Linked DNA regions of Homo sapiens: regions 1, 2, 4, 5 and 6 are each linked to region 3. Evidence: promoter capture Hi-C in 16 types of primary human blood cells and fetal thymus (Javierre and others, 2016). All regions are on one chromosome and are shown on one strand. Each heading gives the region's core, a stretch centred on a gene start or on the middle of the fragment in contact. The rest is flanking DNA. Distances are from core to core; before and after follow the strand shown. Region 1 holds the start of LINC01531 (long intergenic non-protein coding RNA 1531). Region 2 overlaps HPN-AS1 (HPN antisense RNA 1). Region 3 holds the start of LSR (lipolysis stimulated lipoprotein receptor). Region 4 has its middle 6.1 kb from the start of FFAR2. Region 5 overlaps HPN-AS1 (HPN antisense RNA 1). Region 6 holds the start of HPN-AS1 (HPN antisense RNA 1).

Region 1 (4,462 bases), core at 399-2,898, 160 kb before region 3:
TGAGAGCCTTTCTCTACAAAACGTTAAGAAATTAGCTGGGCATGGCGGTGTGCACCTGTAGTCCTCGTTACTCTGGAGGCTGAGGCAGGAGGATCACTTGAGCCCAGGGGCTTCAAGGTTACAGTGAACCATGGTGGCACCACTGCAAACCAGCCTGGGCGACAGAACAAGACCCTGTCTCAAAAAAAAAAAAGTTTAAAAATGAATAAAATAATGAGGCCTTAACCTATGACAGATAGCATATCACCTGCTGGCCCATCTGTACATCTCATTCTGCATTCGAGAACTTCAGAAGTAGAGGACCAGATGAATGGGAGTGGCCCTGCCGCCACGGGGCTGAGCTCCACCGCTTTTGTCCTGCTCCTCCTCGCCAGGCCCTGACCATCTCTCCACTGACTTGTCCTGGCCCCTTTTCCATTTCTGTGGCCTCTTCCCTCTCCTCCTTGGAGAGTAGCCTGTCCTCTGCTCCCTGCATGCTCTCCTTCCATCCCGTCTCTTCCTGGGGTTATGATCCCAGCAACCTCTTCCCTGAGCCCAGGCGAGGTCAGGTCCCTTGCCTTTTCCTGCAGGTAGATGGGTGGGTTTTCAAAGATGTCTGGTTTCAGAAGCCGGTGGCATCTTGTCTAACTGGACCACCTTTTCCTTTTCCACCAACGGCAGGCTTTTATACCTGGAAGAGTCATGTGGTCAAAAAGAGGAAAGTCAGTGGTTGAGCTCTTTCTAAAGCAGCTTGACCTTCTGGGTCTCCCACCAGATTTTGTCCCCAACAGACTTATTTCACCCAGAGTCCAATTTTTTTTTTTTTGAGGCAGAGTCTTGCTCTATCACCCAGGCTGGAGTTTAGTGGTGCGATCTCAGCTCACTGCAACCTCTGCCTCCCTAGTTCAAGTGATTCTCCTACCCCAGCCTTCCAAGTAGTGGGATTACAGGTGTGCAACACCACGCCCGACTAATTTTTGTATTTTTTGTAGACAGGGTTTCACCATGTTGGCCAGGCTAGTCTCGAACTCCGAACCTCAAGTGATCCGCCTGCCTTGCCTCCCAAAGTGCTGGGATTACAGGCGTGAGCCACTGTGCTCAGCCCAGAATCCAAATTTGAACAGTTTTTTCAGGCTTCCTCCTCCCCCTACATTCCAAGAGGTTGAATTCTGTTTCCTTCCCATGGGCAATTATCCCACACGACTACACGCACATCCATCTCTCACTTCCGCTTTTTCTTTCTTTCTTTCTTATTTTGTTGTTGTTGTTTTGAGACAGGGTCCCACTCTGTTGCCCAGGCTAGAGTTCAGTGGTGCAATCGCGGCCCACTGCAGCCTTCACCTTTCGGGCTCAAGTGATCCTCACACCTCAGCCTCCCGAGAAGCTGGGCCACAGGTGCACGCCACTGCATCTGGCTAATTTTTTGTATTTTTGGCAGAGACGGGGTTTCACCATGTTACCAAGAGTTGTCGAACTCTTGAGCTCAGGCAGTCCACCCGCTTTGGCCTCCCAAAGTGCTAGGATTACAAGTGTGAGCCACCATGCCCAGCCCCAAGTTTGTTTTTAGAAAAAAAAACCTAGCATTGTCCCTTGCCTATAACAGACACTCAAATCCTTGTGGAATGTAAGGATGGAGGTTGGATGTGCCTGTGAATACTTGCTAGCTGATGACACAAGCAAAGAATGTGTCAGAACCTGCGCCTTTTGTCTCCTGTCCTTTATCTGCATTCTGTTGCCCGGGTTACTGGTATGGGGACATCTTTGGTGCTGAGGTCTAGGTTCCAATGAGTCAAAGGGAGAATTCAAACTAAGTTGTCTGGCAGCACCCCAAGACTGTGCTGACCTCACACACAGCTGTATCACGGGAGTGGGCAGTGCATCATCTCAAATCCAACTCAACTGAGCAATGGTTCGGGCTGAGTCACACCATGTATGAATCGGGGGGCGGGGGTATGTGGCTCCTCTCCAACAAGCCACACTGTCTGCTTCCCTGTCACAAAACACATGGAGCCGTTACTCTGTGTGAGGTACTGTTCTAGGAGCTGGAGACAAGAGTGAACAGGATGAACAGAAAACAAGTAGACAAACCAACAAGGCAATTTTACAGGAAGAAAGGAAGTAGGCCAGGCAAGGTGGCTCACGTCTGTGATCTCAACGCTTTGGGAGGCCCAGGCAGGAGGACTGCTTGAGGCCAGGAGTTCAAAACCAGCCTGGTCAACATAGCGATACCCCGTCTCTACAAAAAGTGAGATAAAAAGTCAGGCATGGTGGCTCACACCTATAATCCCAGCTACTTAGGAGGCTGAGGCAGGAGGAGGATTGCTTAAGGCTGGGTGTTTGAGACCAGCCTGGGCAACATAGTGAGATCCCCTGTCTCTACAAAAAAGGATAAAAATAAAAAATTAGCCAGGCATGGTGGTGCACACCTGTAGTCCTAGATACTCAGGAGGCTGAGGCGGGAGGATCACTTGAGCCTAGGAGTTGGAAATTAAAATGAACTATGATGGCACCACTCCAATCCAGTGGTCCTGTCTGGGGGAAAAAAAAGGGAAAGAAAATAAATCGGCTAGGCGTGGTGGGGTTCATGCCTGTAACCCCAGCACTTTGGGAAGCTGAGGCGGGCACATCACTTGAGGTCAGGAGTTTGAGACCAGCCTGGCCAACATGGTGAAACTCTGTCTCTACTAAAAATACAAAAATTAGCCAGGTATGGTGGCGGGCACTGGTAATCCCAGCTACTCAGGAGACTGGGGCAGGAGAATCACCTTAACCTGGGAGGCAGAGATTGCAGTCAGCCGAGATCATGCCACTGCACTCCAGCCTGGGCGACAGAGGAAGACTCTGCCTCAAAAAAAAAAAAAAAAAAGGACCAAAAATCAAACAACAACAACAACAACAACAAAAAGCAAGCAGGGAAATTGAGAGAGAGAGAGAGAGAGATGGGCAGGGCCTGTCAGGAAAGGCCTGGGACATTTGAATGGGTGAGAAGGAGCCACTATCTGAAGAGCGTTCCAGGTAGGGGCACCAGCGGGAACTTAGCCTGAACCATGGCTCGGTTGAGTTGGACTTGAGATGTCGCACCGCCCACTCCCATGATGCAGCTGTACGTGAGGTCAACACAGCCTTGGGATGCTGCAAAACAGCTTAGTCTGAATTCTCCTTTTTTTTTTTTTTTTGAGACAGAGTCTCACTCTGTTGCCCAGGCTGGAGTGCAGAGGCGATCTCGGCTCACTGCAACCTCCATTCTCCTGGGTTCACGCCATTCTCCTGACTCAGCCTCCTGAGTAGCTGGGATTACAGGCACTCACCACCACACCTGGCTAATTTTTGTATTTTTAGTAGAGATGAGGTTTCACCATATTGGTCAGGCTGGTCTCGAACTCCTGAGCTCAGGTGATCAACCCACCTTGGCCTCCCAAAGTGTTGGAATTACAGGCGTGAGCCACTGTGCCCGGCCTGAATTCTCCCTTTGACCTCATGGAACCTAGGCCTCAGCACCAAGGATGTCTGAAGCTCTGAAGCTCTGAGGTGGGAGGAGGCTGGAGGAGGGGCCCTGGCTGCTCTGCCTGCAGCCACAGGGAGAGTGCACTGGAGCCAGCTGTAAAGTGCTGACTTTAGTTAGGAGCTGTTTGCCCTCAGCTGATGGTTACCTCATCCGTTGATCATATCGTCCTCTCCTGATCTGTGATACGTTCTGATAAGCTGCTGCAGCCAGTCAGAAACTGACAGCCCCCTTCTGGTTCCATGCCCTTGTGGTATCTTGACAACAGAAACCCACATTGAGCCACACTGTCCTTGTCAGCATCCCGCAATGACAGATAGGGTAAAGGTCAGATATGGGGCACCCAAAACAGAATGGGAAGCATTTTAAGATGAAAGGGGGCCAGATGTGGTGGCTCATGCTGGAAATCCCAGCACTTTGGGAGGCTAAAGCAGAAGGATTGCTTGAATTCAGTTGTTTGAGACCAGCCTGGGCAACATAGCGGTAGCCCATCGCTAAAAAAATTAAAAAATTAGCTGAGTGTGCTGGTGCATGCTTGTATTTGCAACTACTCAGGAAGCTGAAGTGGGAGGACTGCTTAAGCCCAGGAGTTCCAGGCTGTAGTGAGCTGCAATCACGCCATTGCACTCCAGCCTGGGCGACAGAGCCAGACTCCATTTCTTTAAAAAAAAAAAAAAAAAGCTGGGCCCAGTGGCTCATGCCAAAGTGCTGTAATCCCAGCACTTTGGGAGGCTGAGGCGGCAGGTCACTTGAGGTCAGGAGTTCCAGACCAGCCTTGCCAACACGCTGAAACCCCATGTCTGCTAAAAATATAAAGATTAGCCAGGTGTGATGGCTGGCACCTGTAATCCCATCTACCCAGCAGGCTGAGGCAGAAGAATTGCTCGAACCCAGGAGGCGGAGGTTGCAGTGAGCTGAGATTGCACCACTGCACTCCAGCCTGGGCGACAGAGTGAGCGACTCAGTCTCAAAAAGAAAAAA
Region 2 (4,211 bases), core at 1,266-3,765, 180 kb after region 3:
CGGCTCACGGCAACCTCTGCCTCCCGGGTTCAAGCAATTCTCCTGCCTCAGCCTCCCAAGTAGTTGGGATTACCAACACCCACCACCATGCCTGGCTAATTTTTGTATTATTAGTAGAGACGGGGTTTCTCCATGTTGGTCAGGCTTGTCTCGAATTCCTGACCTCAGGTGATCCGCCTACCTCGGCCTCCCAAAGTGCTGGGATTACAGGCATGAGCCACCGCACCCAGCGAAAAGGGAGTTTTTATTTCTGTAACTGGTTATAGGGTGAAAGCCTGGAAATTGTCCCCAGACCAACTCAAAATTACAAAGTTTTCCAGAGCTTATATACCTTCTAAGCTATATGCCTGTGTGTAAGTGTAGTTTCTTCAGACCCCCAATTAAACTTGTTTAATCCTAAAAGGGTCCTGTTAAGAATTCATTCTTTATCTTGTCATGCTTTAAAGCCCAGGAAAGGCCTGAGCAAAACTCTTGGTAGGCTTTTGTTACATTCCAGCTTTTGTATAGGGCACTGGCTCTATCAGCTTTTAATATTTGACTTAGCCACTCAGTCGGTGCTGAAACAGTTGTTATGGAGGCCTGCGTTAGTGAGACCTGGCCTGCCACACCTGGGCCCAGTCCTCATTCGAAGGCTCCTTTTTGCACCACCAGTCCAAGGAGTGTCTGGGTTAAGGCATCCCATCTTTTTCTCCAGAACACCGCCAGCATCTGGACACATGCACTTCCCTAGCGGTCCAGGGACCCCCCCACCACCCCGCCAGGGAGAAAGTGTCCGAACCTGCTCAGCAGAGAGAGGCTGGGAATGAGAGCTCAGTGCCATATCCCGAGCTGTTCCAGCCCCAGGCCCCAGCGCCAGCCCTGCCCCTCGGAGGTGGACCTTGGACGGGATATGCAGCCCCTCTGTAGGACAGCAAACCCCACAGACCCTCCTTCCCAGCTTGCATGGCGATGAAACAAGTGTTTCCCAAAGGGCGGCACATGGGCTGCTGGCGGGAAACCCCGGGAGAGTATAGGATGGCAGTGAAGAAGGAATTGTTATTATTTCACTAGCATTTGTTTATTTAATACATTTGTTTTGATTTATATTGAAAAACATATATCTGCCACCGCCACATCAAACCCACAGTTTCTTTTTTTTTTTTTTTTTTTTTTTGAGACAGAGTCTCGCTCTGTCGCCCAGGCTGGAGTACAGTGGCGCAAACTCGGCTCACTGCAAGCTCCACCTCCCGGCTTCACGCCATTCTCCTGTCTCAGCCTCCTGAGTAGCTGGGACTACAGGCACCCGCCACCATGCCTGGCTAATTTTTTTGTATTTTTAGTAGAGATGGGGTTTCACCGTGTTAGCCAGGATGGTCTCAATCTCCTGACCTCGTGATCCACCCGCCTCGGCCTCCCAAAGTGCTGGGATTGCAGGTATGAGCCACTGCACCCGGCCTCAAACCCACAGTTTCATAAACATTATTGTTAAAGTCAAGGCTGGCAGGGCACAGTGGCTCATGCCTGTAATCCTAGCACTTTGGGAGGCCAAGGCAGGTGGATCGCTTGAGCCCAGGAGTCTGAGACCAGCCTGGGCAGCATAGCGAGACCCCATCACTATCAAAAATACAAAAATTAGCCAGTCTCATAACCCGGTCTCAAAATAAATAAATCAATAAAAATAATACATAAATAAAGTCAAGGCTAAGCTTAAAAAAAAAAGACACACACACACACACACAAAAGGAAAAGAGATAATTTGAATAAAACAATACAAGTAGTACCAGCGGTATTTGTTTGCCCCTAAGCTCCATAAAGTTGGTTTGTCCTGTCCCCTATATTTCTCCAATTCCTAGAACAGTGTCTGGCACATAATAGGTGCTTAATAAATATTATTTGAATGAATGAATAGCAAAAATTAAGACAGCCACTTTCAAACATCTGAATTTGGGGAAATACTGAAGTAACATGTATAAAACTCTCAGTACAGTACCTGTCACATAGGAAGTGCTCAAAAATATGCATGGATATGTTTATTAATATAAATTATTATTATTATTTAGAAGTGAAACAGGCATTGTGGCCAAATGCTAATTAGTGAAGTATTAAATTAAAGATTTGCCCAAAGCTGACTATCACCTTCTTAGAATGAACTTCTGTAATGTAAGAACAAATGTGAAAGTGTTCTAAAAAGTTATTACTGTCATAATTTTATTATCCACAATTTTAGCAGGGAAATATTTCAGGTTGAACACCTTACTGAGGGATCATTTCTCTGCTTTGTCAGCTGTTAATTTGCTCCGATAGTCCATAAGCTCCTAGGGCAGTTTTAAGATGTGGCCCCAAATTTTTTGACCTGCCTTCCACCACCAAAGGGTGGGGTCTCCATCTCCTCCTCTAGGGTCTGGACAGGTTTGTGATTGCTTCAGCTGACAGAGTGGAGCAGAAATGAGGCTGGGGTGTAAAGGCCAGTGTCTGCTGGAATGCTCACTCTGGAGCCATGAGCCACCACGTGAGAAGTTCAAATGTCCTTGGGTAGCCATATTGGAAGGAAGCCCAAGTTAGCCAGACAATGAGTCCACAGTACCAGCTGAGCTCAGCTTTTGAGTGATCCCAGCCCGGATACTAGACTTGTGAGTAAAGAGCCTCCTTTTGGGATACCGAGGCAGGAGGGTCACTTGAGCCCAGGAGTTCAAGACCAGCCTGGGCAACCAGTCCCATCTCTACAAAAAAAAAATAAAATTAGTTGGGTATGGTGGCACACACCCGTAGTCCCAGTTACTTGGGAAGCTAAGTTGGGAGGATCGATTGAGCCCAGGTGGTAGAAGTTTTAGTGAGCCATGATCACACCACTGCACTCCAGCCTGGGCGACAGAGTGGGACCCTGTTTCAAAACAAACAAACAAAAGAAGCCTCCCTATTCCAGTCCCTGTTCCTTTAGGCTTTCTAGCTAAGGACCTGGTCATCAGGGAGCAGAGACAAGCTGTGCCTGCTGTTCCCTGTCCAACTTTCTGAGCTGCAGAATCCATGAGCATTTACTGTACCCACTAGCTTTGGGTGGTATGTCATGCAGCAAGAGCCAAAACAGCTCCTCGCTTCATAACTGCAGGATTGAAACAGTGTTACTTTTTATGCAGAAACTAAAGTCCATCTCCCTACTTATGCTGCTATCTGAATGTTCACAATAATTATTTCTGAATATAAAATGAATAGCCTTCACCATCATTGCTAATCATGGCTGTGATTTTATGTATGAAATAACTGTTGTGGCAGAGTAGCTGTACATTTCTCCTTCAACCCAGCTGGGAGAATGCCAACTTATAACCACATATGGAGCTATCTGTTCCAACTAACATCCAGAAAGCTTTTCTATATTTGAAAAGGACTATGTAGATATAAATGCTAAATAGGAATGCAAAACTTGGCTTGGGTTCCTGATGTAGTTGCACTAATTCTGTAAGATGGGTCAAATATTTCTGATTCTGAGCGGCACCACAATGACATGGAAGTAATTTTCATATTCAGCTTTTCTGAAGACTGAGACCCTGGCAGGAACTGAAAGCAACCTTGTGACTGTTATTATTCTTTTTAAATATCTTCCTAGCTCTTTGGGGTGAGTGGCAAGGTTGCTGGGAGCAGGAGGAGAAACTGAGGCTCACTGACCCCTGGCATACAAGGGAAACCAGTGAATGGCTGTTGAGTGAATCACAATCTCCCCAGCCCCTCCACTCCTCCAACAAAGCAACAGTGCAGACAGAACTCAGAATGGCTGTCAGAGGCGTTTGAACCAGAGCAACTCCATCTTAAATAGGACCTGGGTAAAGTAAGGCGGAGACCTGCTGGCCCGCATTCCCGGTAAATTAAGGCATTCTAAGTCAGAGGATGAGAGAGGAGGTCGGCACAAGATACAGGTCATAAAGACCTTTCTGATAAAACAGACTGCAGTAAAGAAGTCGGGAAAACCCACCAAAACCAAGATGGCCATGAAAGTGACCTCTGATTGTCCTCACTGCTACACCCCCACCAGCGCTATGACAATTTACAAATGCCGTGGCAATGTTGGGAAGTTATCCTATATGGTCTAAAAAGGGGAGGCGTCAATAATCCACCCCTTGTTTAGCATAACTAAATAATAAATCAAGACTAAATCAAGAAATAACCATAACAATGGGCAACCAGCAACCCTCGGGGCTGCTCTGTCTATGGAGTAGCCATTCTTTTATTCCTTTACTTTC
Region 3 (4,551 bases), core at 1-2,500:
GCCACCTGTCACCAGCTTGACACTCGCAAGTATGTGGTTTACAGAGTGCCTGGCACACATTGTTCCTTAATTGCCAGGACCAGTGAGGTAGCCACGATAATCATGCCCATTTTATAGACCCGTGGGGCTGAAGTGGCAGGTGCACGGTGACACGGCCAGTTTCCTTGGACTCGCCCGCCATCCCTCTTCCCAGCCTGTGGCCTCTGAACCACACCAGTCCCCTCTTCCCTTTGCCATTCACCCACAACAAGGGGCCTCTGTGTGGCCTGGGCAGGCAAGCCCAGATGGCCATGTTGATGCCCCCAGCGCCCAAGGCCCCACTTCAAAACCGACTACGAAGGATTCCAGGTTACCCGGGGCCTTTTGAATTTGGAGGGAAAACCATGGAGTTGTTTGCCTGAACTGCTTTGCCATGGAGGGACTAAAGCCCCCACAATATCTCCATCAGCCTCCCACCACCTCACCCTACTCTAAAGTCATTTCAAATGACTGAACCAAAAGTGTCTCGGGAAAGACCTCATCACCACCCAAATATCCCATCCAGGTGAAAGCCTGCCAGCAGAAGTCGGTTTCAAGTCCGTAAATCCATCCCACCAGACTCTTACGCACGTATAATCCGGAGCCCGCGGGAGGTGGGTGGGGTGCGGGGGATGGGGAGTCCCCAGTCCCACACCCACCCGAGGCCTAGGCATTGTTCCTTCGTCTCTGTCCCTCTAGGAAGCGTCTGATCCAGCCCTCCCGTGCCCTCTCCCCGTTACTCCAAAACTTAGAAATCCCCGGGTGCGCCCAAGTCCCATCCCGGCTTTTCTTTTCCCAGAGATCGGGCGGTCTTCCACTCCCTCCCCACAAAGAGTTCCATTCTCCCTGCCGCTCCGGGTCTCACCGTCCAGGGAGTTTCACTTCCTGCTATCTTCCAGATAAGGGCGCGGGGAGCGCTCCCCGGCACAAATGGGGAATTCCTCTCACTCCCGCGCGCAACAGATCGCCCAAGACCCAGGGGATCGGAAGGTCCCAGCCTCTGAGACCCCCGCTTCCCGCTTCCCGCCGCCTCCAACTCCATCCATCCCCCTCTACAGTTCCCTCCGGCGTTCCGCAGCGTCAGAGGCCCCGTGCCCCGTACCTGTGCACCAGGTGCTAAGCAGAAGCCACACGAAGACGACCGCGTCCCGGCCTGCGGCGGCCGGGTGGGAGCCCAGCCCTCTGGAGAGCCCGCCGGCCAACAGCGCCATCGCGGCCGTCTGGGCGCGTCTGGCCCGCGCGTCCCTTCCAAAGTACCTTAGGGGGCGCGGCGCGCACCAAGGCCAGGAGGGGTGCACGCTCCTCCCCTTCCCACTTCCGTTCCTTGTCCCTACTCCAAGTCCGTCCTGTTGCATTCTGGAAGTTTTAATGAGCGTAAACGACGTGGACAAAGGGCATGCTTTCAGATATGGGGGAGAAAGGTGCTTGACCCGCCGCGGTCCTCCGAGCCACACTCCACCCGCTGCGCGCTCCGGTGAATGGTTCGGCCCAGGTACACAAGGGTGGGAGCCGAGGGCTGGGCTTAGGGGTGAGCGGCGGGGAGGGGTTCCTCTGCCTCCCTCCCCGGAAGTGGGCTGACCCAGGTGCGCTCCGTCCCCCAGGGCCCGAACCAAGTGACTGGCCCGCTGGGAGGGCGCCTGCGGACCACAGGTCCCTTCCGGCCCCCATCTGCTCCGGCCAAACCAAGCGCACCGAGATCCATGCAACCGAGACCCACTTGGAGCGATTCACCTGTTGAGATAGGGCGGGTCCCGCCGCGCACCTGTTCCCTCCCTGCCCAAACCCCTCTCCCCGGCTGGCGATGGACCCGCCTAGGTGCGCCCTGCCGGGAGGAGCGAGTCTAAGCAAAGTCCTGGCTGGGAGAGGCTTGTTGGTGGCGCCTGACTTCTCCACTTCCACTGGGGTTCCTCCGGACCGGGTGGAGGGGGGGCGCTTCGGGCCTCCTGTGTCTCCCAGTTAGATGACCTGAGGAACCCTCTAAAGTCCCCGGAAGGGAAGCTCTGCCCCCTCAGGGATGCCCAAGGGGAATCAGGGCCAGGAAAAGTTGGAATTCCACTTCGGAAGTTTTCGCCACCTCCCCCACCCGTTCCCAACTTGTGGTTCGGCCCCTGGGCATCCCTAGCCCCCGGGTCAGCCCTCCGGAAATTCTGGCTCTTAAAGGGGCCGAGCGAAGGCGCGGGGCTTGGGACCGGTTTCCGCTTAGGAATTCCCGGAACGAGCCACCTGCGACCGAGGGCGGGGGCGCGGCGCGGCGATCAGCCTGCGCAGCGCTGGGCGTGACTCTGCTGTCTCCAGGTGGCGGCGAGGGAAAGCGCATCCTGGGGGAACCCTGGGCGCTTCCTCGCGTTAGACTCCCCCAGGTTGCCAACTGGCCAGTGGCTGGTTTCGGTACCCAGGCGTGCTTTGTTCTACTGGCCCTGTTAAAACTCAAGCCAGATCACGTCCACCTGCTCACAGCCCTCCTGTGGCTCCTCCTCACTCTCAGCAGAAACTGACCTTCCCCCTCTTATCTCACCTCCTCCCACTCTCTCTGGCTTACTCAGCTTCGGACACCCTGGCCTCCTCGCTGTTTCCAACTATACTTCTCACAGTCCTCAGAGCCATCGCCCGTGCTACTCCCTCTGCCAGAACACCCTTCCCGCAGATGTCCACATGATCTTCCTCCTCCTGTAGGACACCATTGCAGTGACACCTTCCCTGGCCACTTTTTATAAAATTTCAACCCGTTCACGTCCCTTCATCGTTTAAAAAAATATTTTTATGATAAAATATGCAAACTATAATATTTATCGCTTTAACCACTTCAAGTGTAAAATTCAGTGGCATTAAGTATATTCACAATGTCGTGTACCAATCACCACTCTTTATCCCCGAAACTGTTTCATCATCCCCAACATAAACTCTGTGACCATTAAACAGTAACTCCCCATTCCCTGCTACCTGTGCCCCTAGTAATTTCTATTCTACTTTGCTTACCAAATTGCCCATTCTAGGTGCCTCATATAAGTGGAATCGTCTAACATTTGTCCTGTGTCTAGTTTATTTCACAAAGAATAATGTTTTCAAGGTCCATCCATGTTGTAGTATGTCGAAGCCATGTAGCATGCAGTAAGATCAAAATTTCTTTTTACAGCGGACTAGTGTACCATTGTATGTATATGCTACGTTTTATTTATCCATTCATTTGTGGATGGACCTAGGTTGTTTCTACCTTTTGACTATTGTAAATAGTGCAGCTGTGAACACTGGTGTACAAATATCTGCTTTCATTTCTTTTGAATATATGCCTAAGAATGGAATTGCTGGGTGACTTGGTAGTTCTATTTTTAACCTTTTGAGGAACTGCCAAACTGTTTTCCCCAATGACTGCACTATTGTACATTCCCACCAGCAATGCACGGAGGATTCCAATTTCTCCACATCCCCACCAAAACTTATTATCCATTTTCTTGATTATGGCCATCCTGGTTAGTGTGAAGTGGCATCTCATTGTGGTTGTAATCTGCATTTCCCCAATGACTAACGATGTTGAGCATATTTCCACGAATTTATTGTCCATTAGTATATCTTCTTTGGAGAAGTGTCTATTCAAGTACTTTGCCCATTTTTGAATTGGGTTGTTTGTTTTTTTGTTGTCAAGTTGTAGGAGTTCTATATATATTTTGAATATTAATCCCTTGTTAGATATATGATCTGCAAATATTTTCTTCCATTCTCCAGGTTTTTTCACTTTCTTGATAGTGTCCTTTGGTGCACAAAAGTTCTTAATTTGATGAAGTTCAATTTACCTACTATTTTTTCTTCCTTGTACTTTTGGTATCCTATTTATGCAGTTGTTGCCAAGTCCAATGTGATGAAGATTTTCAACAATATTTTCTTCTAAGAGTTTTATAGTTTTAACTCTTAAATTGAGTCTTTGAGCCACTTTATTTTATTTCATTTTATTTTTTGAGACTGAGTCTCACTTTGTCGCCCAGGTTGGAGTGCAGTGGTGTGATCTCCGCTTACTGCAACCTCCACCTGCCGGGTTCAACCGATTCTCATGCCTCAGCCTCCCGAGTATTTGGGATTACAGGTGCATGCCACCACACTGGGTTAATTTTTGTATTTTTAGAAGAGATGGGGTTTCACCATGTTGGCCAGGCTGGTCTCGAACTCCTGACCTCAAGTAATCTACCTGCCTTGGCTTCCCAAAGTGCTCACATAGGTGTGAGCCACTGCACCCGGCCTGGGCCATTTTAATTTTAGTATGTGGTAGAAGGGTCCAACTTCATTTTTTTGCATATGGATATTCAGTTTTCCCTCTACCATTTGTTGAAAACACTGTCCTTTTCCCATTAAGTGGTCTTGGCTTCCTTGTCAAAAATCAATTAATCATATATGTGAGGGTTTGTTTCTCGGTTCTGTATTCTATTTCATTGATCTATACGCCTATCCTTATGCAAGTACCATATGTTTTAATTACTATAGCTCTGTAGTAAGTTCACAGATGGAAAGTGTGAGTCCTCTAACTTTATTCTTCTCTTTCAGTAT
Region 4 (4,710 bases), core at 2,070-4,569, 190 kb before region 3:
ACTGCATTCCAGCCTGGGCGACAGAGCAAGACTCTGTCTCAAAAAAAAAAAAAAAAAAAAAAAAGGCCCTGACCTCCTAGATTTCGATTCCCCTCTTACAGGTTAAGCATCTTTTCTATTGCTGAATAGTATTCTGTTTTAAGGATATTTCCTATTTTATTTATCCATTCATCTGTTGATGGATATTTGGTTGGTTTGGGTTTTTTTTAAAAAGTTTTTGTCTAGTATGAATACAGCTGTTAAGAACATTCTTGTGTGGAAATGTTTTCAGTGCTGTTGGGCAAATACCTGGCAGTGTATTGGCCAGGTGGTATGGTAAAACGTTTTATTAACTTTTTAAGAAACTACCAGTTTTCCAAAGTAGCTGTGCCATGTTGCATTCCCACCAGCAGCCTACGAGCATTTCAGTTGCTCCACATCCTCACCAACACTTGACAATTGTTAGTTTTTAATTGTGGGCATTCTAATAAGTATGCCATGGTATTTTTGTGTGTGTGTGTGAGACAGAGTCTCGATCTGTCGCCCAGGCTGGAGTGCAGTGGCGCCATCTCCACTCACTGCAAACTTCACCTCCTGGGTTCAAGCCATTCTCGTGCCTCAGCCCCCTGAGTAGCTGGGATTACAGGCACGTGCCACCACACCTGGCTAATTTTTGTATTTTTAATACAGATGGGGTTTTGCCATGTTGGCCAGACTGGTCTTGAACTCCTGACCTCAGGTGATCTGCCCGCCTCAGCTGCCCAAAGTGCTGGGATTACAGGCGTGGACCACCGTACCCGGCCTTTGTTGTGGTCTTAATTTATACTTTCTTGATGATTATTGGTGTTAAGCATTTTTTCAAGTACTTATGAGCCATTTGTATATCTTCTTTCGTGGAATGTCTGTTTAAATATTTTGCTCATTTAAAAAATTTTAGGCTGGGCATGGTGGCTCACACCTGTAATCCTAGCATTTTTGGAGGCTGAAGTGGGTGGATTGCTTGAGGTCAGGAGTTTCAGACCAGCCTGGCCAACATAGTGAAACCTCATCTCTACTAAAAATACAAAATTTAGCTGGGCGTGGTGGCGGGCGCCTGTAATCCCAGCTACTAGGGAGGCTGAGGCAGGAGGATCGCTTGAACCCAGGAGGCAGAGGTTGCAGTGAGCCAAGATCATACTACTGCACTCCAGCCTGGGCAACAGAGTGAAACTCTGTCTCAAAAAAAAAAAAAAAAAAAAGAAAAATTGGATTATTTTCATATAGTTGAGTTCTGAGAGTTCTTTATTATATTCTTGGTACTAGTCATTTGTCAGATGTATATATTACCAATATTTTCTGCCATTCTGTGACTTTTCTCTTCTTTTAATTTTTTTTTTTTTTGAGACAGAGTTTCACTTTGTTGCCCAGGCTGGAGTGCAGTGGCTCCATCACAGCTCATTGCAGCCTTGACCTCCCAGGCTCAGGTGACCTTTCCGCCTCAGCCCTCCAAGTAGCTGGGACTGCAGGCACCTGCCACCATGCCTGACTAATTTTTCTATTTTTTGTACTGATGAGGTTTTGCCATTTTGTCCAAGCTGGCATCGACCTCCTGAGCTCAAGCAGTCTGCCCACCTCGGCCTCCCAAAGTGCTGGGATTACAGGCATGAGCCACTGTGCCTGGTCTTCATTTTCTTAATTGTCTCTTGAAAAGCAAAAAAGTGTTACATTTTGACAAGGTCTAATTTATCTGGTTTTTCTTCTATGGTTTGTGCTTTTATGTCCTAAGAAGCTTTTACCTCCTTATCCAATTATTCCAGATTTTCCTTTCCCTGTTGAATTGCCGCGGCACCTGTACTAAAAACCCATTGGTTGTATGTGTGTGTGGTACTATTTCTGGACGCTCTATTCTTCTGAGAGACTCTGTGTCTTGCCTTTCATCATTTGCACACGGTATTTTTAAAATTTATTTATTTTTATTATTTTTTAAAATTTTTATTTTTAGATGGAGTCTTGCTCTGTCTCCCAGGCTACAGTGTTGTGGCGTGATCTCAGCTCACTGAACCCTCCTCCTCCTGGGTTCCAGCAATTCTTCTGTCTCAGCCTCCTGAGTAGCTGGGATTACAGATGCTTGCCACCACCCCCGGCTAATTTTTGTATTTGTATTAGAGACAGGGTTTCGCCATGTTGGCCAGGCAAGTCTTCAACTCCTGACCTCAAGTGATCCACGTGCCCCGGCCTCCCGAAGTGCTGGGATTACAGGCACGAACCACTGTGCCCGGCCTGCACACAGTCTTGATTACTGTGGTTTCATAATAAGTCTTGAAATAGAGTAAGTCCTCCAACTTCCTTCTTCTTTTCTAAATTTGCTGTGGCTATTCTGGGTCATTTGCATGTTCATATAAATATTAAAATCAATTTCTACAGAAAAGCCTGCTGGAATTTTGAATGGGCTCACACTGAATCCATAGATCAATTTGGGATCATTGACACTGGACATCTCTCTCCATTTATTTAGGTCTTTAATTCCTCTCAGCAATGCTTTCTAGTTGTCAGCATAGAGGTTTTGCATGATTCTAAATATTTTGGAGGCAGCTGTAAATTTAATTTTTTTAGAGTTTATTTTCTCATTGTTGGTTGCTCTCATAGCATCTTTTACTATTCCTTCCTATGTCCCACGTCTCAATTTATTATAATGTGTTCATTAGCATGAGGATTTGCATTAAGATGGATGTGAAGTCTACCTCCCCTTATGAGACTGTCCACAAAGCAGGGAACACAGCTGCTTTGCTCACCATTGCATCCTCAGGACCTGGCGTGCAGCCTGGAACATGTTAGGCCCTTAGTAACTATTTCCTGGATGACAGTGGAGGATAGATGGATGAGAGTGACTTCAGAATGGAGATAAGTCCATTTCAAAAACTCAGAGGACGCTTGTCCTCAGATGCCTCATTTATCTTTTTCTGGGACCTGTTAAGACATCCTGGACGTGTAATCACTTGAGAGCTGTCTTGTGGTTTAAGGGACTTGCAGCAAAAGCCACAGGACCTTTTTCCTCATGGTCAGCACTGATGATCCAGGCTATATACCTTTTTTTTTTTTTTTGAGACGGAGTCTTGCTCTGTCATCCAGGCTGGAGCATAGTGGCGTGATCTTGGCTCATTGCAACCTCTGCCTCCTGGGTTTAATTGATTTTCCCGTCTCAGCCTCTTGAGTAGCTGGGATTACAGGTGTCTGTCACCATGCCCTGCTAATTTTTGTATTTTTAGTAGAGACGGGGTTTCACCATGTTGGCCAGGCTGGTCTTGAACTCCTGACCTCAGGTGAACCGCCTGCCTCGGCCTCCCAAAATGCTGGGATTACAGGCGTCAGCCTCTGCGCCTGGACCCATCTGTATTTTTCAACCATGATATTTCTAATGCTTGGCACAGATCCTGGCACATCCTGGGGGGTGGATATATATTTGTTAAATGAATGAATGAATGAAACAATTGCCAGCCTCCCAAATGCTGGGATTACAGGTGTGAGCCACTGCACCCGGCCTTAAGACTCCATTTTTGAGCAGTGGGAAGTCACTTAGGGCCATAAGAGGGGAATGATGTGATGTGATATATGATTCTAGAAGATCAAGCCTGCTACTGTGTGAAGAATGCTCCCTAGAAGGACAGAACTGGAAGCAGAGGGATCCGCTAGGAGGGTGTTGCAGTCGCCAGGGGTTGAGGGGATTGAGGATGGCATGGATAAGGGAGAATGTGCACCCGGGGCAGAGAGGATCACTTAGGATTTGAGATATGTAACTTTGTTTTATTATTATTATTTCTAAATGTTTTTATTATTTTTATTTTTGGTAGAGATGGGGTCTTGTTATGTTGCCCAGGCTGGTCTCAAACTCCTGGCCTCAAGCCATACTCTCACCTTGGCTTCCCAAAGTGCTGGGATTACAGGTGTGAACCACCACGTCTGGGCTGATTATTATTATTTTTAGAGGTGGGGGTCTCGCTCTGTCACTTCAGGCTGGAGTGCAGTGGTGTGATCATAGCTCACTCCAGCCTCGACCTCCTGGGCTCCAGCGGTCCTCCCACCTCGGCCTCCCAAGTAGCTGAGACTACGGGCTTGGCCACCACACTTGGCTAATTTGCTATTTTTTGTAGAGACAGGGTCTTGCTGTGTTTCTCAGGCTGGTCTCAAACACCTGGCCTCAAGCGATTCTCCTGCTTTGGCCTCCCTAAGTGCTGGGATTACAGGTGTGGGCCATTGCACCCAGTGTGCAATTTTAAATAAATGACAATTAATAAGGAAGTACAGGATGCCAGAGAGAAATGGAACTCTCCTAGGGATGAAGAGGGAAGGAGAATCTAGACCAGCACGTGCTGATGGACTTTGAGACGTAATGGCCCCTGTGCCAGTGCAGTTCCCCTGAGTTCATTTGCGTATCACCTTTTTTGAGCCCTGCAGAGGCCTCACCAGAGGAGCTCACCCACTGTGAAGGTAACAGTTTATGCCCACCCCCCTCCGTGCATCTTCTCTTTTAGTTGTCTATTATGCAGCCTCCCCTGTCACTCCAGTCGTGGGGTCCTTCACTTCCACAGTCCCTGCAGAACCCATCCCCGGGCTGGTACATTGCTGAAGAAGAAAATTAAAAGGAGCGTCTCAAGGCTAGCTTCTTGGGAGAACTCTGCAGACTCTGTCTCTGTGGCCTTGGTGGTGGGCCTCTGTGGTTGTTCCCACCCACTGCCGGTAGCCATACCCCAACCT
Region 5 (4,203 bases), core at 1,553-4,052, 160 kb after region 3:
CGCACTCCTTCGGGTGCCGGCACCTGGCCCCTGCCCACAGGTGCGCGTTATCGTTGGCGCAGCCCTCGGAGCAGGCAGGGCGGCCGCGGGGACGCAGAGCTGCACCCGGCGCGGGTCCAAGCGTTGCTGGTAGCTGCTGTGCTTAGGACACGTGGCGGCTATGCAGGGAGGAGAAAAAGCGCGGGTAAGGAAACATGATCTGCAGGCCACATTTGCCCAACTCCCTGACCGAGTGCTTAAAATCTCGGCTCTGTCGTGGTGCTTAACCTCTCCAGGACTCCGTACCCATCTCTCCGAAAAGAGTACTGACCTCAAACTGACTTTGAGGGTTAAGCAAGTTAAAATAAATTAAGTGGTTGGGACAGCGCCTGGCACCCTGGGAACCTTGGATAAATGCGACCTATTGTTATTCCAGAAATAGCCCCTAGGTGGCCCACCTTTCTCACTCCATGAACACTGTCTTACCTCCCCCCCACTCCACCCCGCTCCCCGCCTTCCCTATTCCAAACCCTTTGAGGGTTCCCTACGGCCCAGGTGTCAGAGATTCACATTTGGATCTAACATAGGTGGGTTAGAACCTGGTTTTAGGGGTGTCTTGATCCCCAGGATGGTATCGGACAGGCTTTTGTTGCCTGTTGGTTGAGCAAGAAAGCGGCACCTTCCACCCCCACCCCGTAGAACATGACCTGCCCCGATTGCGCCCCTAATGTTGGAACCAGCTAGGAACCCTTAATGGGCAAGCATTAGGGGCCAGCAAAGCTTTGGTGCAAGGGAGGAAAGCCGGATGTTTTAGGAACGATCAGAAAAATCTGAACATGGACTAGGCTTTTCATGATATCTGGGAATTACTGCTTATTTTGTTAGGTGTGAGCAAATCACAGCAGGTTTTTTTGTTTGTTTGTTTTGTCTTTGTTTTTTGAGACGGAGTTTCGCTCTTGTTGCCCAGGCTGGAGTGCAATGGCGCAATCTTAGCTCACCGCAACTTCCGCCTCCCAGGTTCAAGTGATCCTCCTGCCTCAGCCTCCCGAGTAGCTGGGATTACAGGCATGCAGCACCACGCCGGCTAATTTTGTATTTTTAGTAGAGACGGGGTTTCTCCATGTTGGTCAGGCTGGTCTCAAACTCCCTACCTCAGGTGATCCGCCTGCCTCGACCTCCCAAAGTGCTGGGATTACAGGTGTGAGCGTGAGCCACGCGCCCGGCCACAGCAGGTTTTTTTCTTTTTAAAAGTCCTTATCTATTAAAAAAAATAATGCTGGAGTATTTACAGGTTTACACGTTGTCTGGGATTTGCTTTACACAAAATAAATCAATAAGGGAGGGGTGGAGGTGGACACAGGTCGGCCACAACTTGGCTGTTGTTGAGGCTGCCTTCTGGGTACAGGGGCATTCAATAGGCTATTCTCTCTACTTTTATGTTCAAATTTTCCATAATAGTTAAATAAGAAAGAAAGAATTAGATGATATGGCTAGTAATAAAACTTCTTTTGTCTCTGGAGAAAGAAAGTCTTAGTTCAAGTCTCAACTCTGTCTGTTGTGATTAGCAGTAGACAAATGGCTTTACCTCTGTGAGCCTCTGTTTTCCCAAATGTAAAGTGGGAATAATAACAGTCATTGCCTCTCACTTGCAGGGTGTTTCTGAGACAGTGGCGGCAAGAGGTACACAGAGCCTTCGGCCCCATGCCTGGGACATTGTAGATGTTCAATAAGTATTAGCAGTTGTTGGGATTATTATTGTGGCATCTCAGGTCAGGCATTCTGAGGGTGGAAAAGGACATCCCCTTGACAGGGGGCCAGGGATCCAGTCAACCCAGGGTGGTATTCAAAATACATAGCGGGCTGGGTGCCATGGCTCATACCTGTAATCCCAGCACTTTGGGAGGCCGAGGTGGGCGGATCACCTGAGGTCAGGAGTTCGAGACCAGCCTGGCCAACATGGTGAAACCCCATCTCTACTAAAAATACAAAAAATCATCTGGGCGTGATGGCGGGCACCTGTAATCCCAGCTACTTGGGAGGCTGAGGCAGAAGAATAGTTTGAACCCGAGAGGAGGAGGTTGCAGTGAGCTAAGAACAAGTCACTGCACTCCAGCGTGGGTGACAGAGTGAGACTCTGTCTCAAAAAAAACAAAAAACAAAAAAAAACATAACAGTCGGTAGCATACAGGCCCCCTACCAATCCACATGCGTCCAGCTGGAGCCTAGGAGGAGAACCTGGAAGGCCTTCCTGTGCTGGAATTGGGAATATGGGAAGTGGTTGGGGCACTCAGGCAGCCCAGGAGTACAGAAGGATGTCAGTCTGTGTGTGGCCATACAGAGCATGCAGATGAATTCCTGCCCTGCTCAACCATGACTCACCACAGAAGGAAGAATTCCTCTAGTGCCTGATGGTGATGTTGGCGCCCTGGCAGATGGCGGCATATGTCTGCAGGGCCAGGCAGAGGATGTGGTCATCATCCCCAGCAAGACACAAATCATCGACACAGCTGGAAACATATGGGTCTGGGTTGATCTCCCAGTGGCAGTGGCTGAAGGGTCCTGGGGGTCCTGCAGGAGCCAGCACTGCCTCCTGGCTGACACAATCTGCCCCTGGTCATTGCAGACTGAGACTGGACAGGCAGCCCCACAGCTGTCCCTACAAGCCTTGCTCTGCTTCTCCAAGGTAATGTCAGCCTTAGCGTCCTCACTGGGGTTGCAGTTGAAGTTGCCTCAGAGCCCACAGGTGTGACCCTTGTAGAGGTGGGGCAGGGTGAGGGTAAGGCTGTAGGTGAGATCTGTGCTGAGCCAGAGGCCAAAGTCTGACTGCAGCAGGGAGAAGAGGCCATTCCAGTGGACGGCAAGGCTGCCCCCATTCAGGCTTACGGGGAGGGCTGTTGTCTCACCATTCACCTAAGGAGCAGGCAGAATCAAAGGAAGGCTCGGGAGCATAGGACCACAGTTGGGTCAGTGTTGCTTGGCACATAGTAGGTGTTCAAATACGTGAAAAATGTTGATTTTTTTTGATATAGGGTCTCACTCTGACCCTCAGGCTGGATGCAGTGGCACAATCATGGCACACTGCAGCCATGAACTCCTGTGTTCATGCGATCTTCCCACCTCAGCCTCTTAAGTAGCTGGGACTATAAGCTGGGACTATAAGCGTGCGCCAACACACCCACCTAATTCTTTTTTAGATACGGGGTCTCGCTATATTGCCTGCTTGAGACAGGCTGGTCTTGAACTCCTGGGCTCAAGGGATCCACCTGCCTTGGCCTCCCAAAGTGTTAGGATTACAGATGTAAGCCACCGTACCAATACATGTAAAACATTTTTAGATGAAGGAACAAGGACATAACTATAATAGTGACCATCTCTTGTTTTATCCTGTTCTGCATTCATTTCTCCTTTCTCTGGATTTCCCTGAGAACTCACCCCTCCAAAATCAATCCATGTGGTTCACAGAAAGTCAATCCTATCCTAACTTCCAGCACATGACCCAGGCCCAGCCAATCAGCTAGTCCATCAGGGATTCAGGGGTGGTCACATGACTCAAGCTGGGCCAGTGAGGGACACTTTTCCTCCAGTGACATTTGCTAACCTGGCAGCTGTCCTTGTCCCTACAAGGTGGGATGGGATGGTGCCTGTCTGAAAATGAAGGAAAGGAGAGCCCAGAAATTGAGACAGATTTGAGACATATTGTTCAAGCACCTGGGTCCAGCTATGCCTGAATCCATACACCTGTAGATTTTTTTTTTCAATTGTGTAAATCAGTAATTCTTTTTTTTCTTAAGCTGGTCTGAGAGTGTTTCTGTTATATTAGCTGAATGCATCTGATGGATATAGTCAAAAATGGGCATATAATCAGAAAATAGAGGTAAAATGTAGAAATAATGGAGACAGAATAAGTTTTTCCCTTGGGCCTATGGGTTTGGGTGAAGGGTTGGGGTTCCTAGAAACGACACGTCCCAAAGCTGGTGCTTATCTGAGCCATGCCTGGGCTGTCCCTCCGCAGGTGGACCTGGGTCCCATTAACCTGGACAGACACCTCCAAGATGAGCATGAGGGGGCTGCTGGATCTGTTCTCCTTTCACAGCTGTATCCTGAAGAATGGCAGTGAGCCGGAAGAGCCACAGGATTCGGCAAAGACGGACACACAGGTACCTGAGAACTCAACAGTTTTCCCATCAAAGGTGATGATGTGTGAGTGCCCGGCTGCTTGGCAGG
Region 6 (4,809 bases), core at 583-3,082, 140 kb after region 3:
TTAGTAGAGATGGGGTTTCTCCATGTTGGCCAGGCTGGTCTCGAACTCCTGACCTCAGGTGATCCACTCGCCTCGGCCTCCCAAAGTGCTGGAATTACAGGCGTGAGCCTCCATGCCCGGACTAATGAACACCATTGTTGAGAGTTACTATATATCCCAGGCCCCGCCACAGATGAATCAGACATGCCACCTCCTTAATTTGGCCACAGCTTTTTGGGAGCACACAGTAGGCCCACAGACAGAAAGGGAAGGGCTCAGAACCTGACAGCCTGGGTTCCAATCCTAGCACAGCCACTTTCTCCTTATGCGACATTAGGCAAGCAAGTCTGCCTTCCCGGGCCTCAGTTTCCCCATCTGTACCACTGGGATAATAGCAGTCCATCTGCTGTGCTGCCCTTTGGAGTCAATGGGCTCGTTGTGTGGGACGCTGACAGCATGACTAATTCTGAAAGCTGGTTCCCTTCCTGGAAGGGGGTGGAGTGGGAGGGGTGTGGCTGTGTGTTTTCCAATAGCCAACAATGGAACTCTTGTAGGCAGGGGCCCTCGGGCCTAGAAAACACATCCACCCCTGTGGGTTCTAGACAAAAGTTTCAGGTCTCAGAGTGGAGGTTTACCAGGGCATTTACACTCTTTGAAGATTGTTAAGAAGAAATACTGGTTTCGGGGGACATAGGGACACAGGGGTGGATTCCCATTTTGCCCTCTCTCCCTGCAAGAAGTAGCTGCCAGAGATGGGGGGTAGGGGCAGGATCTCTCCCACCTACAACTCCTGAGTAGGATTAGATAGGCTTAAGAAAACCTCTGGGCTGCACTGATTGGCTCAGTGGGGTTTAATCAAAGTGAAGCATTGGAATTTTTGTTGAGTACTTGGGGTAAGAAAAGATTCGGGTTTTGGACAATGGGGAATACACATTTAATGACTGGAAAATTGGCAGTTATTTTGCCATCACAAGAAAAGCCAGCCTGAGGACAAAGCTAATGCTATAGAGAAACACAGACCAAGAGAAATGCTGAAAAACTGAGTTAGCACCCTGATCAAACCATGCCTGATCTCCCTCTGGAATTTTCAGTTATGTAATTAGTCTAAAAATCATAAAACACAGTCTGTGACTGGTTTGAGTTACCTTTTATGAGGCTTTCTGTAACCAAAACAGCCAAAGTGGTATATAGGGAACTTCTGTGGACCCAGAATCTCTACACTTTCACTAGGCTATCACATGATTTTTACTTAGTTTGAGCCAATGTATTTCTTTTAGCTTCAATCGGTTCAAGAGTCTCTAGATGCCAATGAGTGCTTACCTCATCAGGTCGGGGCTCTCTCTGCAGACAAACCTGGGTCCCATGAACCTACATCTTTGAAATGAACACAATGGGACTGCTGGACTTGTTTCTCCTTCCCAATTTCCACCTTGAAAAGGCGCAATGAGCTGGAGGAGCCACAGGACTTGGTAAAAGCAGAAGCGCAAGTGCCTGGAAACTCAACACTCTTCCGGTCAAAGGAGGCGACGTGTGAGTGCATGGTTGCTTGATAAATGCCAGGGGAGAGTGGGTGGCACCCAAAGATGCCCCTGAGGGTCTCACATCTCTGCCCCGGCCCACAGGAGGACGGGGAGCAGCACACGGCGTGGGTGGAGGCCTGGCAGTGGCAGAATTGCTCACAGCGCTCCCCAGTCCAGAAGGCCTCCCCAGCCGGGTGGTGGTACCTGCCCCCCATGGAGCAGCTGCACTGGATTGGGGGCACGCAGTCCATGCCACTGAGCACAAAGCCTGGGTCACACTGGCAGCCATCCTGGCATGGTGTCAGGCAGCTGTCGGGCAGGGCAGGCTCGGCACAAGAGCTAGGACAGGAGGAGCCGCAGAGCTCGTAATTGCTGCGGGGAGGACAGGCCAGCTCTGGAAGAAAACAGGTAGGAGTTAAATAATTGAGCAAGCATTACTATTCTGGAGCATTTCCAACCAGAATAGGACCAAGGGAGCGGAGAGAGGGTTGTGGGGGCCAAGGGTAAGTCATAAAGGCAAAGGAGGGGAGGTGGAGGCATCATCAGGATGTAGCATAATGGTGGCGGCGTGGTCACGGCGGTGATAACGGTGGCGGCGTGGTCACGGCGGTGATAACGGTGGCGGCGTGGTCACGGCGGTGATAACGGTGGCGGCGTGGTCACGGCGGTGATTAACGGTGGCGGCGTGGTCACGGTGGTGATAATGCTGGTGGCGTGATCATGGTGGTGATAATGGTGGTGGTGGTGGTCGTGGTGATAGTAATGATGATGATGGTGGTAGGGCTGGTGATGTTGTTGGTGATGTGATGGTGTTGATGGTGATGGTAATGATAGCGGTGATGGTGACAGTGATGATAGTGGTGAGGGTGGTGGTGGTGGTGATGACAATAGTTGTGGTTGTGGTAACAATGATGGTGGTGGTAGTGATAATGGTGATGGTGATTATAGTAGTGATGGTGATGCTGATGCTGGTGGTGATGGTGATGCTGGTGGTGATGGTTATGATGGTGATGATGATGTTGATGGTGGTGGTGGTGGTGATGATGATGGTGATGGTGGTGATGGTGATGATGGTGGTGATGGTAGTGGTGATGATGGCTGTGGCTGTGGTAACAATGATGATGGTGATGGTGGTGATGGTTGTGGTTGTGGTAACAATGATGGTGGTGGTAGTGATGATGGTAATGCTTGTGGTGATGGTGGTGGTGGTGATGATGGTAATGCTGGTGGTGGTGGTGGTGGTGAGGCTGGTGGTGGTGGTGATGGTGACGCTGGTGGTGGTGGTGATGGTGACGGTAATGATGATAGTGACTGTGATGATGACAAAGGTGACGAAGATAGTGATGAAGAAACAACCTTGGTCATGCTGGGTCATGTTCAGGTTAGTTCGTTACTTCAGCATAACCCAGACCATCCTGACTGATGCAATAGCACTCAGTGTCATCTGTTATTGTTATTGCAGAGTTTTAAGCAGGTAGGTTCTTCGCGGGAACAGTTAGCCAGAAAGGCATGCAGTGGGTCACTTTGGGTGGTGTTGACCTAGGAGGACATCCTGGAAGTGGTATTGGGCCAGCTGGGGAGGTCAGGCTGAGAAAGACCCTCCCTGGGAATACCCACTTACTGCAGGCCAAGAGGTGTCTCCAGGGCTGCATGGGAACGCTGCGCTGCTGGCTTTCCTGGGCGTAGCTCCCCAGTATGGCACACAGAGTCTCTCTTGAGCCCCCCGTGGCACAGAGGTCATGGATGCAGTTCTCCACATGCACCTGGGGATCCACGTCCTTACTGCAGGCCCTGTAGGGCCCATCTTGGGTGCCCAGCAAGCCACAGAAGGCCTGGTATAGGGCTGCCTTGTCTGGTGGGCACAGAGGGGCTGGGCCCCCATTAAGCTGTTGGCATCAGAGAGCCATGTGCTATCAGAGCCGCTGAAGTCATCCTGGGTATCCACGCTGAAGTCCCCGCCCAGGCCACAGAGGGTGTTGGTGTAGGTCTCAGGCACTGCCACTCAGAGGGCATGGGATTCGTGAAAGGTCATGGAGAGGCCGGGTGCCACCTGGACTGTGATGGCCAAGGGCGTGAAGAAGGCCTGGAGTGTGCCCCCCAGCCAGAGTCAGGGGCAGGCCAGCCTGGGAGCCGTTCACCTGGAACACAGACACCCAGGCTACGTCGGGCAACCACGTCCAGACACCTGCCCCTCCTGGGCCCCTGCTCCTGCCACTGCTGAGATCCACTCTGCACATAGCACCCAAGGAGCCCTTTGAAATCGCACATTAGATCCTATCCCTCCTTTGCTCAAAACCTTTCCATACCTCCCTAGTACACTTGGAGAAAATCCAAACTCGCCACCGTGGCCTGGGCAGTCCCACAAAATAAACCTCTGTCCCCTCTGTCCTCATCTTGTCTCACACACCCCTTCACTCATCTGCCCACTCTGCGCCAGCTCCCCGGGTCTCCCCACCACTCCTCCAACACACCAGGCACCCTTCCAGCCTCTGCTCCTCTGCCTGGACACTCTCCCCTTGTATCTACATGGCTCCCGGTCTCTCCTTCCGATCTCTGCTCCACACTTCACTGCTTCCCTTTTTGTTTTTTTTGGAGACAGGGTCTCGCTCTGTCACTCAAGCTACAGTGCAATGGCATGATCTCGGCTCACTGCAGCTTCAACATCATGGGCTCAAGTGATTCTCTCGCCTCAGTCTCTCGACTTGTTGGGACTACAGACGCACCATCACACCTGGATAATGTACTTGATTTTTTGTAGAGATGGGGTCTCACTATGTTGCCCAGGCTGGTCTTGAACTCCTGGGCTCAAGCTATCCTCCTGCCTCAGCCTCCCAACGTGCTGGGATTACAGGCACACATCACCACGCCCGGCTAATTTACATGATTTTTTGTAGAGACGGGGTCTCCCTATGTTGCCCAGGCTGGTCTTGAACTCCTGGGCTCAAGCGATCCTCCTGCCTTGGTTTCCCAAGTTCTGGGATTATAGCCATGAGCCACCGTGCCTGGCCTGTTACCCTGTCTTAAAGGGCAACACCCTTACTGGCCCCTCACCCCTTTCCTGCTTTTTTGTTCTCCAGAACCAGCTGTCACCTTCTGACATACCATAAATTTACTTCTGTATTTGTTTATTGTCTTTCTCCCAGGGATTTTTGTCTATTTTTCAACAAAATTAAGTTCCTGCCTTCGAAGAACACATATTCTGTCAAAAGGAAGATAGATCATAAACAAAGAAATGATTGACAGAAAAGATGATTTAAGAGACTGACAGATACTTCAAAAGAAAGGGCTGGGCGCGGTGGCTCACGCCTGT

Evidence for each region. The method cuts DNA at HindIII sites, captures the fragments that hold promoters and counts their contacts. A CHiCAGO score of 5 or more calls a contact.
Region 1: the fragment with the promoter of LINC01531 here is called in contact with the fragment with the promoter of LSR in region 3 in 2 of 17 cell types (monocytes and neutrophils); the score reaches 11.2 in monocytes.
Region 2: a contact is called between a fragment that was not itself captured here and the fragment with the promoter of LSR in region 3, in 4 of 17 cell types (total B cells, M2 macrophages, M0 macrophages and 1 more). The highest score is 8.5, in total B cells.
Region 4: a fragment that was not itself captured here is called in contact with the fragment with the promoter of LSR in region 3 in 2 of 17 cell types (total B cells and monocytes); the score reaches 6.3 in total B cells.
Region 5: a contact is called between a fragment that was not itself captured here and the fragment with the promoter of LSR in region 3, in 1 of 17 cell types (naive B cells). The highest score is 5.5, in naive B cells.
Region 6: a contact is called between the fragment with the promoter of HPN-AS1 here and the fragment with the promoter of LSR in region 3, in 4 of 17 cell types (naive CD8 T cells, naive B cells, total B cells and 1 more). The highest score is 6.4, in naive CD8 T cells.

What each region holds. Positions count from the first base shown.
Region 1 is chr19:35,402,793-35,407,254 of GRCh38, reverse strand. LINC01531 (long intergenic non-protein coding RNA 1531) reads right to left here and starts at 1,648. Exons shown (of 5, transcript NR_040046.1): 1 at 1,574-1,648; 2 at 1-670. The HindIII fragment of the contact is 14,783 bases long and covers 1-4,462 here.
Region 2 is chr19:35,068,988-35,073,198 of GRCh38, reverse strand. The region is part of intron 3 of HPN-AS1 (HPN antisense RNA 1); the gene reads left to right. Among named protein-coding and RNA genes, the nearest start is that of HPN, 29 kb to the right of the region's middle. RefSeq lists a silencer at 2,368-2,568 and an enhancer at 3,953-4,211. The HindIII fragment of the contact is 1,655 bases long and covers 1,688-3,342 here.
Region 3 is chr19:35,245,701-35,250,251 of GRCh38, reverse strand. It overlaps LSR (lipolysis stimulated lipoprotein receptor), which reads right to left and starts at 1,250. Exons shown (of 10, transcript NM_205834.4): 1 at 1,121-1,250. The coding sequence starts at 1,229. RefSeq lists silencers at 1,087-1,156, 1,567-1,646 and enhancers at 759-1,560, 1,561-2,363, 2,497-2,666. The HindIII fragment of the contact is 9,039 bases long and covers 1-4,551 here.
Region 4 is chr19:35,439,783-35,444,492 of GRCh38, reverse strand. No RefSeq gene overlaps it. Among named protein-coding and RNA genes, the nearest start is that of FFAR2, 6.1 kb to the left of the region's middle. RefSeq lists an enhancer at 2,002-2,211. The HindIII fragment of the contact is 3,140 bases long and covers 1,750-4,710 here.
Region 5 is chr19:35,086,889-35,091,091 of GRCh38, reverse strand. HPN-AS1 (HPN antisense RNA 1) reads left to right here. Exons shown (of 4, transcript NR_024562.1): 3 at 3,992-4,136. LOC124904701 (hepatitis A virus cellular receptor 1-like) reads right to left here and starts at 144. Exons shown (of 3, transcript XR_007067238.1): 1 at 1-144. It also overlaps the pseudogene LOC100420797. RefSeq lists an enhancer at 33-570. The HindIII fragment of the contact is 4,082 bases long and covers 762-4,203 here.
Region 6 is chr19:35,103,327-35,108,135 of GRCh38, reverse strand. It overlaps HPN-AS1 (HPN antisense RNA 1), which reads left to right and starts at 1,832. Exons shown (of 4, transcript NR_024562.1): 1 at 1,832-1,907. LOC124904701 (hepatitis A virus cellular receptor 1-like) reads right to left here. Exons shown (of 3, transcript XR_007067238.1): 2 at 1,300-3,637. The HindIII fragment of the contact is 15,680 bases long and covers 1-4,809 here.